Regions from separate parts of the Homo sapiens genome. Here region 2 is linked to region 1. Evidence: promoter capture Hi-C in 16 types of primary human blood cells and fetal thymus (Javierre and others, 2016). All regions are on one chromosome and are shown on one strand. Each heading gives the region's core, a stretch centred on a gene start or on the middle of the fragment in contact. The rest is flanking DNA. Distances are from core to core; before and after follow the strand shown. Region 1 holds the start of CER1 (cerberus 1, DAN family BMP antagonist). Region 2 overlaps ZDHHC21 (zDHHC palmitoyltransferase 21).

What was found. The method cuts DNA at HindIII sites, captures the fragments that hold promoters and counts their contacts. A CHiCAGO score of 5 or more calls a contact.
Region 2: a contact is called between a fragment that was not itself captured here and the fragment with the promoter of CER1 in region 1, in 1 of 17 cell types (total B cells). The highest score is 5.1, in total B cells.

Annotation. Positions count from the first base shown.
Region 1 is chr9:14,717,542-14,724,910 of GRCh38, forward strand. It overlaps CER1 (cerberus 1, DAN family BMP antagonist), which reads right to left and starts at 5,192. Exons shown (of 2, transcript NM_005454.3): 1 at 4,625-5,192; 2 at 2,183-2,845. The coding sequence starts at 5,131. The coding sequence ends at 2,549. RefSeq lists enhancers at 4,340-5,279, 5,280-6,217. The HindIII fragment of the contact is 2,921 bases long and covers 5,147-7,369 here.
Region 2 is chr9:14,623,261-14,629,917 of GRCh38, forward strand. All of the region lies in intron 8 of ZDHHC21 (zDHHC palmitoyltransferase 21), which reads right to left. Among named protein-coding and RNA genes, the nearest start is that of ZDHHC21, 67 kb to the right of the region's middle. The HindIII fragment of the contact is 188 bases long and covers 4,146-4,333 here.

The DNA of each region.
Region 1 (7,369 bases), core at 3,942-6,441:
TTACCAGCCTTATTTTATATGAGAGGAAAATGAGACCAGGATTTATGAAGAGGTGTGCCATGAGGACCAACGGAGTCAAGGAAATATTTGGCCGATAACCTGACCTAGAGATGATTTCTCTTTTGAGATATAACATCAAAATCCTTCAGATAGGAGAGCTAGGTAAGTGGTAAAAAGAAATTTGCTTTGAAGCCTATAGGCAAGAGACCTGGAAGAGTTCAATATAAACTGACAAAGAACAAATGAGCAAATATTTTAATCCAAAATAGAAAATATTCTCCAAATGCTCTTAGGCAAATTCTGAAACTTTTAAAGGCTTGCTTTTCTTACCCATAAAATACAGTGATAACCTACTTTATATAGTTTTTGTGAGGATTAAATTGTTAACTTCTTGTAAAAGACAGCACAGTATCTGGCACTTAATAAATGTTCAATATTTGTGTTTTTCCTCTTGGTTTCTTACAGTCTTACATATTATGTTCAACCTTTGTAAATTGCCTTTTTTGTAAGTAAAAATGATTGAATATGAGCAATTTTGTTGAATTTCATGCAATTATTCTATAAATGTAAGGTTTGATACCACTATCAACTATCCCATCTAGAATTTACATGCAAGGGAAGCGCAGACCAAAATTTGAATAAAACAGATCATTGTTTGGGGTTTGGGCTTGAGAGTCTATTTGCAAGGATGGATGAAACGGATTTACAAGCATGTAAGGAGGAGAAGGACAGTCCAATTGGCAGAGATAGGTTTTCATAATCAGGGTTAGGCGATTGCAATCATGACAGCTGTTTGATAGCTTTTGGCACCAAAATATATTGACCAGCTGAGATATCATTAATGCTTAACAATTTTATCCTTATGAGCATATCTTGGCCAGCTAGGTTGCCTTTGACCACCAAAGGGTATGATAATATATTCCAATGTAAATGCCATGTGTGCATCTGTGTAACTCACATTCATGTTGATGTGTTACAAAATATACACTAAATATAAATGCCTTTGCTTCTTTGGAATGTCATGTTAGATGGTGTGATTAAAGAGGAATAGAATTAAAATATAAATTGATTTATTTAAAAAAAACAGTTATTCTGGGAAATGTGTGTATGTGTGTGCACTAAAAGTAAAAGAAACCTAATTATTAAAATAATTTTTAGGAACAAAAATTTGAATAACTTAATAGAAAAAGCAGTCTGGCTGGGAAAAGGCAGTTCTGTACCATATATGTGTAAAAATTAACACAGACAGGAGAGAGGTGATTGAGAGACTTAAACAGAAGGCTGCTTACAGATCAGAAGAAACCCTTGGTCCAGTGTCATAAGTCTATGAAGACATTCCAGAAATGCTTCCAGCTAGGTTATCTCCTGATAGTACCTTTAAATTATGAGACAAAACAAGTAAGGGAAAAATATAAGAACATTTTTCAGAATGCTTCATATACTAAAATTTAATGCATTAAAATATCCAGAATATTTTCAGAACCTGTAATTTTGGTACTTGCTGAATAAAATTTATAATACAAAGTTTTATTAAATAGCAAAAAACAGTCATTCAAACATAGAAACCTTACTACCTAATTCAAAATGCATGTGAGTAAATAATTTTGCCTGAAGATTGAATTTTTGGGGGTTACTTTCATTAGCATCTCTGGATTGATCTCTAAACCTGGTAGTAGTCATGTATTTTTCCTTCCTCATAATATAGGTACTTGTTTGGCTACCAGTGATTGTTCCTCTTCCCTATATAAACTACTAAAATTAACATCACTGTTCCTTCTTCAAAGTCAGAGACCTGACATTAAGTACTTTATATGAGGAGTATTGTTAAAAAGGAGGCAACCAAGCAAGTTACTCCTTACATCTGTGGAAAGACTTAATCATCAGATAGAAGTCAAGTAAAACACTGTTTGGGTTGCAAAAGTAACTATAAGTATGAGAATCTTTCCTACAAATATTTCACGTAGCCTGCCTCCCTGCCTGCCTGCGTGCCTGCCTGCCTGCCTGCCTGCCTGCCTGCCTGCCTTCCTTCCTTCCTTCCTTCCTTCCTTCCTTCCTTCCTTCCTTCCTTCCTTCCTTCTTTCCTTCCTTCCTTCCTTCCTTCCTCCCTCTCTATCTTGCTTCTTTGCTTGCTGGTGATTTGACACACATTAAAGAAGCCCATTTTTATGGTCTCGCTTATTTCTTTTCCTTCTTTAGATGGAGGGCTTTTACCCAAACTTGGAGAAAATGCATCACGGAATATTAGTAGTGGAAAGGATTTTAGCAATCATCTAGGTCGGGTCCGTCATTTATAGATGAAAATCTTTAGATGGAGAAAGGTTTTACAACTTAACATTCTACGGCTAGTTAGTGGCAGAGCTGAGACAAGGTCTCAAACGTGTACCAATAACTAGACTAATATCATTTCCTCTATCGTTCTAATTTAAAACTACGTTTCAAGTCACCTTTCCCTGAAAATGTTATGTACCCACTTAACATTTTCAGACTGAATAATCAGCATCTTTGCTGTTGTGGTTTTGCTTTTCAAAGGTAATAGTGGGATAGCTCTTCAAGCTGAAACTCCTGGGATAAAGGAATCCTGGGAGCCAGCATGTAGGATGTGTCCATCTTCATGCTCCGTCTTCACCTTGCACTGGCACTCCTCCACCAGCATCACCACCTTGATCACGGAGGAAAGTTCAGTGCAGTTCAGTGGCAAGTGCATCGTGGTGAACTTGGCAGGCAAACAGTGAGAGCAGGAGGTATGGGAGTGCTGCGCGGCTCCAGGAAAATGAACAGACCCGCATTTCCCAAAGCAAAGGTTGTTCTGAACAACTACTTTTTCACAGCCTTCGTGGGTTATAGTCTAAAAAGCAAACACATTTCCATTACGTTATTTTGAATTATTTCTTTAACACACATAATGCAGAAGCTATGGACTGTAAATCTGAGGATAATTTAAAAATTTCAAAGCTTTCCAATTTTGGATACAATTTGCAATATGCAAGTGATGGTATCTATAAGGGCACAGAACCACCTCAATTAAATTTTCTTTATTGAGTAAATTATTAAACAGCCTTTAGGGAATCCCTAAGTTAACATAAAAAATATTTTACTCTACATTATTCGTGCAAAACCTTAAGCAATTTTGTCTAATTGGATGTGAGCGATTGAAAAATTCTAATGGTAATTATCTTACATAAGTAATGTGCCTTACTTTTTTATTCCTCACAGGGCTTTGTGCATAGTAGGCTCCCAATACATATTTGTTACATTGATCGTAGAATAGATCAGAACATTCTAGGTTTAATTCTATCCTATTCTGCAAGACCTGTAGTACATTCAAGTCTATGAAGTTGTATGCAAGCAGAGTTACAATGCATATGCCTGCAAATCATTGTATATTACATCACCTTTACCTCTCATAACTCCAAGCACCTAGCTTTATATGCCTTTCAAAATATGTAAGAGTCAAACATCTTAGTTTTAATTTAATTAGCAATAGAATTCAAAAGAAGAATTTCAAAAGAAATTTGATTGCCTGATTCTTAGGGGTAATTTTCTAATTGCACATGGCCAACAGAGTAGTCATTATTATTTGATAATTGACTTGCCATTGCTACATATCCTTGCCTTTTCAGGCAGAATACTTAACTGCCTTGAACAGTCAATTGCCCTATTCTATTGCTTGCTTAATTGGGTAGCATTACTCGACTATAAAATTTTACTCTACCCTGCATGTTTTTGGTTCAATATCTTCATGTTTAAGGACCTAATGCAAGTTCTCAATTTTAATTTAACATTTGGAATGTAGATATTGCCAGAGGAAGTAGACAGTAGGATGTCCCTTTGTCTTAATAGCATGGAATTGATCATAATAACTACAAATCAGCCAACACAACATGAATCAGGAGAAAGGTACTTCTAAGGGGAGGAGATATGATCTCACATCAAGATTGATTTTTTAAAAAGCTCATATGAGAAAATAAGTGAAAGAAAATCACTTTTTTGCTATCATAATACTAGAAATGATATGACAACTTTTGCCTGAGAACCTCAACGTACTTTGAGGTTGTGGGATAGCTTTAGCAAGCTATTAAAGAAGTCCCTCATAAACCTATAAAGTAATTAAGTATGGACTATGGGGATTAAGACCATCGTAAATGGATATGAGAGTATTTGGGAAGGAGTCCAATGCACCCCACTTTATCAACAAATGGAGTTGACCTGCTCATCCACATATTAATAGAGTGCAGAAAGATAGCTACAGAGGAGTTCTGGTGATTACTCTAAATTCTCAGTTTCCTAACTGAGGGTACAGTCTGACTTATATCTCTGAGTAGATCACCTCCAATGCAAAAATAAATAAATAAAACAGAGCTCTGTGTCTTCAGTGTGAATGAATGATTACTGATATTGACAGTATCATCATATCATTCTTGCAGCATTTCCACAATGCCAAGAAAAAATGGAAAGGCCAGAAGGAAACTTAATCTTTGCCAAATCCTATGATGAATGCCCAAGGACCAAATCTGTAGTTAAGCTAGAGTCAGGCTCCTGACAGCCTTTTCCCCTACTCTCCATCCATCCCAGCTGTCCACTACCACCTGCAAACTCTTACCTGCTCTCCCCCCAGAACACATACCTGGCTGAAGGGCACTGTCCTGCAGGTCTCCCAATGTACTTCATGGCTTTTGATGGGCAAGATGACCCCCTGAGAAGCCGGAGTTTTTCTGAACATGAAGTGGTGCCAGAATTTCTTGGCTTCTTCCCGAAGAGGAGATTTCTCCATTTTCATTCCATCTATCGGCTGGATGAGGGACTGGGTCCCAGGTGGGAAGGGCTCACTATCTGAGTCCCTGGATGGATGCATTTCTCTCTCAGGCTTCTTCCAGAACCTGCCAAATCTGGACAGCATCTTCTCTCTCTGCCTCTGGCCTTCCCCTGCAGGGCTGGTGGCTACAAGGTGTGGCACTGCGACAAACAGATCTGGCTTCTCCTCAGCTTCCTCATGGTTGCCTGTGGGAAGCTCTCTTTGATTCCTTGGCAGGAGTACGGGGGAAAGAGAACTCTGATTCTGGCGGCCATCCTGGTGCCGTGTGGTCTTTCCTAGAGGCAGGAGTACCAGCAGCTGAAATAAGAGGAGATGCATGCTGTCAGGGGCCCAAGCTTCTTTTGTAAATGATGAGGCCCAAAGGAGAGGCTCATTCTCTGCAGGACTGGGAAAAAGGAAATCGTATATATAGATACCTGCCTGGCGGGATGGGAAGGCAGGTGGTCAGTAGCCAGGCAGAATAAACACATTTATTGTTTGCTTGAATTATGTAGTGCTAATGGCCTCCTGCCGTCACTTTGGTTTTGTGTATTTTAAAAGGCCCCAGTGAAAGCCTGGGACCCAGGGGGTAATTAGCTAAGAGTTTAGCTATGTCTGGGGCTTAAAGAGCAGTATTAGCAAAGACAACACATTCTTTGCCTAAATTTCCCATGGCTGTTTTCAGAAGAAGGACTAGAGTCAGCTCACATTTGCTGTGCATCTGCCTTGTGCTGGAATAGAATAGACAAGACATGTTGCTGTAAGAGAAGTTTTTGGATAAAAATTAAAGGCATACATTTAGAAAAAGCCCAGGCCTTTAGGAAGGCTATTCACACACACACACACACACACACACACACACACACACACACACACACGAAGAAGTATATCAAAGTTGTAAGGAGAAGAAAGGAAGAGCTAGAAGGATGTTAATTTTTTTGAGCAAGGGACATATTGTTTCTTACTTACATGCAAATTGGGGTTATTGATTTTTGCACAGTAACTGAGTAAAGGGAATATGTTTTCCTTTCCACACGTAGAAACTCACAATTCCCAAGTTAATCCTCTCACATTAAGAATCAATTAATGGGTGCTAAATTTCACAACTGGTCAGTCATCAGATAAACTCTTCCAATTGTTCACATGTTCCTCAACAGGATACCACGTAATAGACTGACAGCTCATCAGTCTTCAATGAGGATAGGGAAATGTCTCCCTCCAGCCATCCTATTGATTTTTTTTTCCCTTTGAACAAAGAGCCAGACATGAGAACGTGGATTCTAAGAACCAGGTTTGATAACTTTGTGTGTGACGCTGGCTAGTCAGTTTCTTACCTTATTGAATCCACATCATCTCCCCTTGTTTTACACTAATTGATGGCCAGGCTAAATAAAGATTGACACAAATAAGAGTCTTCGGGGATCAAAGGAAAAATTGAAAAATAACTATCATTCAAAACTATCATGAATCAGCCTAGGATACGAAAAAGAAACACGTCCAGAAAACTGAAACCCCAGAATAGAGTCCGATCAGCCTACCACATGATTCAAACAGTATTTCCACTGGGAAGCAATGCAATATCTGCTTTTATTTCTCCCCTTTTAATTCAATCACTATATTCCTTGCTTTCAATAACACAAATAGTCCTGGAACATGTTCCCCCTTTTTTGTCAATACTGATTAAACTTTCTTTCCAAGAAGTGACCCACTGGAGTCTGTTTTCCAGGCATTTCTGTTCTTCTTGATAGCCATGCCTGATTTCTATGAAATAAAGCCTTAAGTAAGTCCCTTTACCCATGATAATGAGCTATTTTTAACATGGACCATCACTTTACCAGAATGCCATGAGTGGAGATATATTGTACTTGTACCAAATATCTATGGAACGTGTGCTAGTATTAATGAAAGGTGCTGTTGATATATAATAAATAAGCATGTGTATTTGCCATTGTTTTTTTTTATTTTAGGAAAAGGGTTCTGCTCTGTTGCCCAGTCTGGAGTGCAGTGGTGCAATCATAGCACTCTGTAACCTCAAACTCCTAGGCTCAAGCAAGCCTCCTGAGTAGCTGGGACTACAGGCACACTACCACACCTGGCTATTTAAAATTTTGTGTTGTTGTTGAAACAGAGCCTCACTCTGTTGCCCAAGCTGCTCTGAAACTCTTAGCCTTGAGCCACCATCTTGCCTCTGCCTCCCAAAGTGCTGGGATTACAGGCGTGAGCCACCATGCTATGTCAACATCTTTTTTTTTTTAATTGACTGCTACTTGAATTTCTTAATTCCCCTCAGCCATCCAATGCTATACGCTTTCCAGAGCTAGTCACTAGGCCTCCTGGTATAATATGGTGTGGAAGCCAGCTGTGATACCTTTCCTGAATCCTTTTAACTGTTACTTTTCAGTAACTGAAATTCCATTGTTATCAATCAGAGTATCTACTATTTCCCAAAACTAAAGACAATCTCAGAAATTCTATCTCGGGTCTCAGTTTGCTTGGCTCTGGAATTACTGAACATGAGATACAGTTGAGATAATTCCTGTTGAACTGCAATGTGTAGAAGACTCACTTTGTGTGTTA
Region 2 (6,657 bases), core at 2,990-5,489, 95 kb before region 1:
ACAGGACTTTGGGAGGCCAAGGCAGGTGGATTGCTTGAGGCCAGGAGTTCAAGACCAGTGCAGCCAATATAGTGAGAGCCTGTCTCTACAAAAACAAAACAAAACCTTTAAAAAATTAGCAGGCATGGCATGGTGGCATGTGCCTGTAGTCCTCGCTACTTGGGGGACTTAGGTGGGAGGTTTGCTTGAGCCCAGAAGTTCAAGGCTGCAGTGAGTTATGATCATGCCACTGCACTCCAGCTTAGGTGATAGAATGAAATCCTGTCTCTTAAAAAAAAAAATACATTGAAGAAACAACCTAAAGAATGGAAGAAAATCTCTGCAACTATACATCTGACAAGGGGTTAATACCCAGAATACATAAGGAACACAAACAACTCAACAGAAAAAAAAAAAAAAAGAGAGAGAAAACAAAAAAAATCTGATTCTAAAACAGAGAAAAGATTATAGAAATGACCAACAGGTATATGAAGAAATGTTCAACACCACTAGCCATCAGAGAAACGTAAATCAAAAACCACAATGGGAAATCATGTCATCCCAATCAGAATTATCCCAGGGTATTATCAAAAATACAAAAGGTAAATGTTGGCAAGGATGTGGAGAAAAGGGAACCCTTACACAGTCTGGGGAAGAACCTTTACTCTTGTTGGGGAAAGTGTAAATCCATGCAGTCATTATAAAAAACAGTATGGAGGCACCTCAAAAAGTTAAAAACAAAACTACTATATGATCCAGCAATCACAGCACTGGGTACACTGTCAGCCCTCCATATTTGTGGGTTCTGTAGCTGTGATTCAATCAACCATGGATCGAAAATACTTTAAGAAAAACTATTTAAAAAAATAAATAATAATATGAATTAAAATAATATAGTTTAACAACTATTTACATAGTATTTACGTTGTATCGGGTATTATAAATAATCTAGAAGATGAATTATAGTACAAGGGAAGATGTCCATAAGTTATATTCAAATACTACACCATTTTACATAAGGAACAGGAGCCTCAATGGATTCCGATATCCCTGTGGGGTCCAGAAATCAATCCCCCATGGAGAGTGAGGGACAACTGTATATTCAAAGGAATAAAATCAGTATGTCAGAGTCCCATGTTTATTGCAGCACTCTTCATAATAGCCAAGATATGGAATCAACCTGTGTCTAACAGCAGATGAATAAAGTAAATATGGTATATATACACAATGGAATACTAATCGGCCAAAAAAAGAATGAAGTACGATCATTTGTGATCACATGCATAAATGAAATAAGCCAGTTAAAGAAAGACAAATACTGACTGTTCTCACTCATATGCAGAATCTTAAAAAAGGTGATCTCACAGAAGTATGAATAGAACAGTAGTTAGCAGAGACTGGGGAGGGTAGAAAGAAGTGAAGGATGGGGAAGAGGATGGTCGATGGGTACAAAGTTACAATTAGAAAGGAGTAATAAATTGTGGTGTTCTATTGCACAGCAGTGTGATTACAGTCAACAAAGTACTGTACATCTCAGAATAGCCTGAAGAGAGGATTTCGGATGTTCTCACCACAAATAAATGAAAAACGTTTGAGGTGATGGATAAGTTAATTACTGATTTGATCATTACATTATGTATACAAATATTGAAGCATCACATTGTACCCCATAACTATGTACAATTATTATATATCAATCAAAAATTTAAAAATTAAAAACACTACTCAGGCAAGTTTTTCACAATTAGAGAAAAACTTTGCCTGCTTTATCTATTACTAATTTATATTAATTCTAAGAAAGACTTTCATTTCACTTCTTAGCACCTCTGATTAGTATATGAACAGTAGCTCATTTAACTTTAAATTTTTCCATAGCACTTAGCAGCACATACTGTACAAAATGGTCAACTTAATATAAATTTGCAGCACTAAACTAATTGGACATGAACAGAAATAGCATGATTCCTTATTTTTAGTTTTGTTTTCAATCAAAAGAGGGAAATGTCCTGTTAATCTTAGCTCTGTCTTCCTTCTACTTTCCTCATTTGAAATGAATGGTTCTTTAAGCACCCATTTCCAACAAAAGACCAGCTATGTCTTTTATCAGGGATCTGAAGTTCACATAAACATCGAATCAATCATAGAACAAAAGTGAGAAGGCAACAGATCTTATATTTATAGACACTGAAAATCTCTTTCCAAAATAATCCTCACACTTCTCTTAATCTTAAATGCCACTTTCTGACTGTATAATCTAAAGAAAATTGCTAAAACTCTATACCTCCATTTCCAAATAATAACGCTTACCTCATAGGTTTTTGTGGGGATTAAATGAGTTAATTATGTCAAAACCCCTTATAACTCCTCAATAAATGGCAGTCTTAAGATTTTAGTGATACTGCCTACTACCTACTTTTTGAGAGGGCTTGGAAAGAAATACCTCAATTACCTCAAAATGTAACTTTTCAACATTATGTTTAAACAAACAAACAAGTGGTTTTATAATGAAAAATAAAATAATAGGGACTACAAGAGACTACACATATAAAATCCTATGCCCTCTAAGAGCTTATAATCCAGTTGAAAAAACAAGTCCTAAATATGTAAACCATGATTCATTCATTCATTTATCCATCTATCAAAAATTTACCAAGTATCTATTATGACACAGTCCTTAGCATCATGGAACTTACAATCTAGTAAAAGTAGTCAAGTATACAGGAAATAATTATATAGTAACATAGAGAGGAAGCCAGCAAGGATGATTATATACAATAATGTTTTGTAGAAATAAGTCTCGCACTAATCAGAATATTTGGAACAGCTGAAAAACTGTTTATAATCAAAACTCAAATTTAACTACTCTTACACTTTTAACACCAAAATTATACTTTGATAAGATTTTTGGTTATTAGTAGAAATAAGATGGGCATTTAACATGCCCCTTTGGCTGAGATTCAGGGAATAATAATATATCAATAAAATGTACATAAATTATTGTGCCAAAATACCATAAGCAAACCATAAATATAAGATTTACTGCTTTCTGCAGTCCTATGTTTTAATGTCAGATTAAATATTTGTGTGGATTCAGATCATGAAATAATAAAATGAATATCTAGGAAAAATTGTTAGTAAAAGGAAAACCCATAAATGTTTAGTTTCCTTACGAACACTTTTTAAGCATCTATTTAATCACTCAAGCAATCAGTAGTGATTTAAGGACATATAAATAAATTATAGAAAAAGATTTCTTTTTAATTAGTTTTATCAAAAATACTTACAAGCAGTTTATTACACTGAGCAAACAGAAATTATGCAATATAAATATGCTTTTACATAGGAACATGCATATGCTAAAGAGTAGCCCAATTCCACACACCATAATTATCAAAATAATTTTGATAATTTTTTTAAAAGAGTATTTCATGTAAATATGAAATATAACTTGGTATTTAAGCAAATGCCCTTGGCAAGGGGGAACCTAGTTTTTTATAAACTTATCATATACAAAATTCTAAAAAATATTATACCCAATTTTACTATATGACATTAAAAGCATATTTAAAAAGAAGGGACACTTTAAATTTTAATTAACTTTCTAGGTTTTAAAAAAGCTATAAAATCTTTCATATAATATTACAATTGGGAATACTACATTAGAAATACATTTATTTTATTTTTATCAAGCAAAAATTCAGAGGAAGACAAAAATGCCTTACAGAGCTCCCTTTATAGAAGTATATGTGAGCTGGGGTCAGCATAATTAGCAATGATGTTCATGTCTGCAATGCTGACCTGGAGCTGAGTACATCAAACATAATTGTTATAAAGAGTGTACTGAATGCTATTAATTCAAAATAATTTGGCAGAATACTAGGCAAAATTTAACTATAGGAATTAATCATTTGAGGACTACACTTCTGTGTATAGATTAAAAGGCAAGTAAATCGACTGATTCGTAAAATGCTGTTTACTAGACAGTCTCCTTTAAACTGATTTCACACTTGGAACACAAGATACTTTTCAGTGAGTAAGGTAGCCAAGTTAAAACTGTCACCCCTGCATTTATGATTTCTCCTGTATTTATTTAAGTAAACATTAACTTGCTGAGTTAAATATGAGCCAGTATTTAGGGGGGAAAACATTTTCTTCTTAATTTGAAAAGCTTTGATTTAAGCTATCTTCAGCAATTCAAATAGAATCCAACAATAGCACCTGTGAAACCAAATGCAAAAATCACTATTTTTTTGTTTGAGAATTTAGTCTTTTACAAAATTGCAACTAAATACATCTGTCTCACCCTACCCCCAACCTCACCACAACTGAGAAAATCTCCAGAGACATCATCAAAAGCTTACACTATTATATAAACTCCACAGAGCCCAGAAAACAAAAATGCTTGTATATAAAAATTAGATAAACTGTCAGAGCAGTGTCATGGTACACAATAGCTCACTGTCAGAACCTCACCAGAATGCGCTGTACCAGCTGTTACAGCACTTCTTGATTAACTCTCTCCAAGCCCAGTGACTGAGAACATGACAAATACAATCACCCAGCACTATTAGTATTGGTGCTCATCAGAATGGACATTATTGTTGGCTATGTGTGAACTACTGCTCAATAATTCAGACAACATCAATTACATTAAATAACATCACTATCCATTTGATTCAGAAACAGCAAAAAAAAACCAAAAAACAGGCTAAACAGTCTGAAGTCTAAAAAATAATTTGACTAACCTGTTTCCCTTAATAAAAAATGCCTCGAAGTAGACTGATTTGAAAACATTTTTATTCCAATATAAATTGTAGTAAAAACGCACAAAAACGTATATTTAAATCCTGTTTAAAATTAAATCGAAAAATAATCACAGGTAATCCTTTTGAATTGGGCTTCAGATTAGTCTATTTAACAGAAACATCTGGTTGTGTTGAAATCTTTTAACCTTGAAAATGAGATTAGAATCCACTATTTTTAAGTTAAAGTAATTTCTAATTATTTTATCTGGGTCACAGATAATCTACTCTTGCTAGGTCTAAAATGACATCAGATTATCACTGCTATGATTATCCTGTTATCTTTCACTATCAACAGGAAGATGAGATAAATGATTTATTTATTCCAAGTAAAAATGAATAATGGTAAAAAATTACTGAAAAGTGATATGCTGCTTCCCTGAAACCTCAAGCTAAATCCCAAAGAGACAACACTTATTTTGCTTGTTTGATGTCTAGTAGGTCTATATTCAAGCTATGCAATAAAATAGTTTACGTAATGAAATGATATCCGTATCAGTAGTTTCCCAAAATGCCTCTAGGATCTTTAGGGTGCAAGAGTAGGGAAAAAGTAAGACTGCAATGGAAGGATTAAATTTACTGTGATTCTTTCTCCCACTTCTTTCTTATGCAACCTGACAAATTCGTCACTTAACACTGTAAAGAGAGATCCATGGATTCGAATTATGACAAAAACATGTGCAGATGTATAATTTCTTGTAATCTTAATTTTATCACAAAACAGCAAACTTATTTTATAAAGTAAGCATCATCTATATTTTAACTTAATTAAAATATTAAATAGTATTTAAGTGCTAATTTAATTCATTCGATTTAAAATTAAACACCGAATGCATTAGACTTTTAAATAATCAAGCCTCAAAGAATCTTAAATCAATGTGAGGAAGAGTATATTCTGGAAACCCTTTTTAATTTCTTTTTTAAACCCCAAAAGGGTAACGCTTGAGGTTCACTATGAAATCCCAGCTAAAGAGATTTAAAAATTCATTGTAATTCTAAAAAGTACTCGTATTCAAGAGAAAGTAAAGTGACTAAAGGTTAGGATAACAAATAGAATATATCCTCTCTCTTGCTTTCTCTTTCTTAACAATTCTTTTTTGATTGTTTTACAGAGGTGTAATTGCTATAGATACCAGCAGTGTCTGGTACAGTGCTCTGAGAGGTTACTACACATATGCAGAAAGAGATGAAACTTTTGGAGGGAGCATTATTCAACAAATGTGGTTTCCACTCGGTTTTAGAAATATCACCTCATAACCAAATCTCTCTACCTTAATAAAATGTAACGTTCAATACTACAGAAAAAAACCCTTGCAATTTGAGAATTAACATGTTGATAGAAGGGAAGAGAGTCAGAATCAAACCTGATACACAAAAACCATAAATAACTTACAGAAATACCTCGAAGATATTGCAGGTTTGGTTCTAAACAATGAAGCGAGTATTGCAATAAAGCCGGTAGCAAAAATTTTTCGGTTTCTCACTGCATATAAATGTTATGTTTATGCTATACTCTATGAAGTGTACAACAGCATTATGTCTAAAACACAATGTACATACCTACCTTAAATTAAAAATTATTTATTGATAAAAAATGCTAATGATCATTTGAACCTTCAGGGAGATGTAATATTTTTGCTGGTAGGGGGTCTTACCTCCAAGTTGACAGCTTCTGATTGGCCAGGGTGGTGGCTGCTGAAGGCTGGGGTGGCTGTCAAAATTAAAACAATAAACCGGTGGCTCACACCTGTAATCCCAGCATTTTGGAAGGCCGAGGCAGGTGGATATTGAGGTCAAGCGATCGATACCATCCTGGCCAACATGGTGAAATCCCATCTCTACTAAAAATACAAAAATTAGCTGGCGTGTTGGTGCA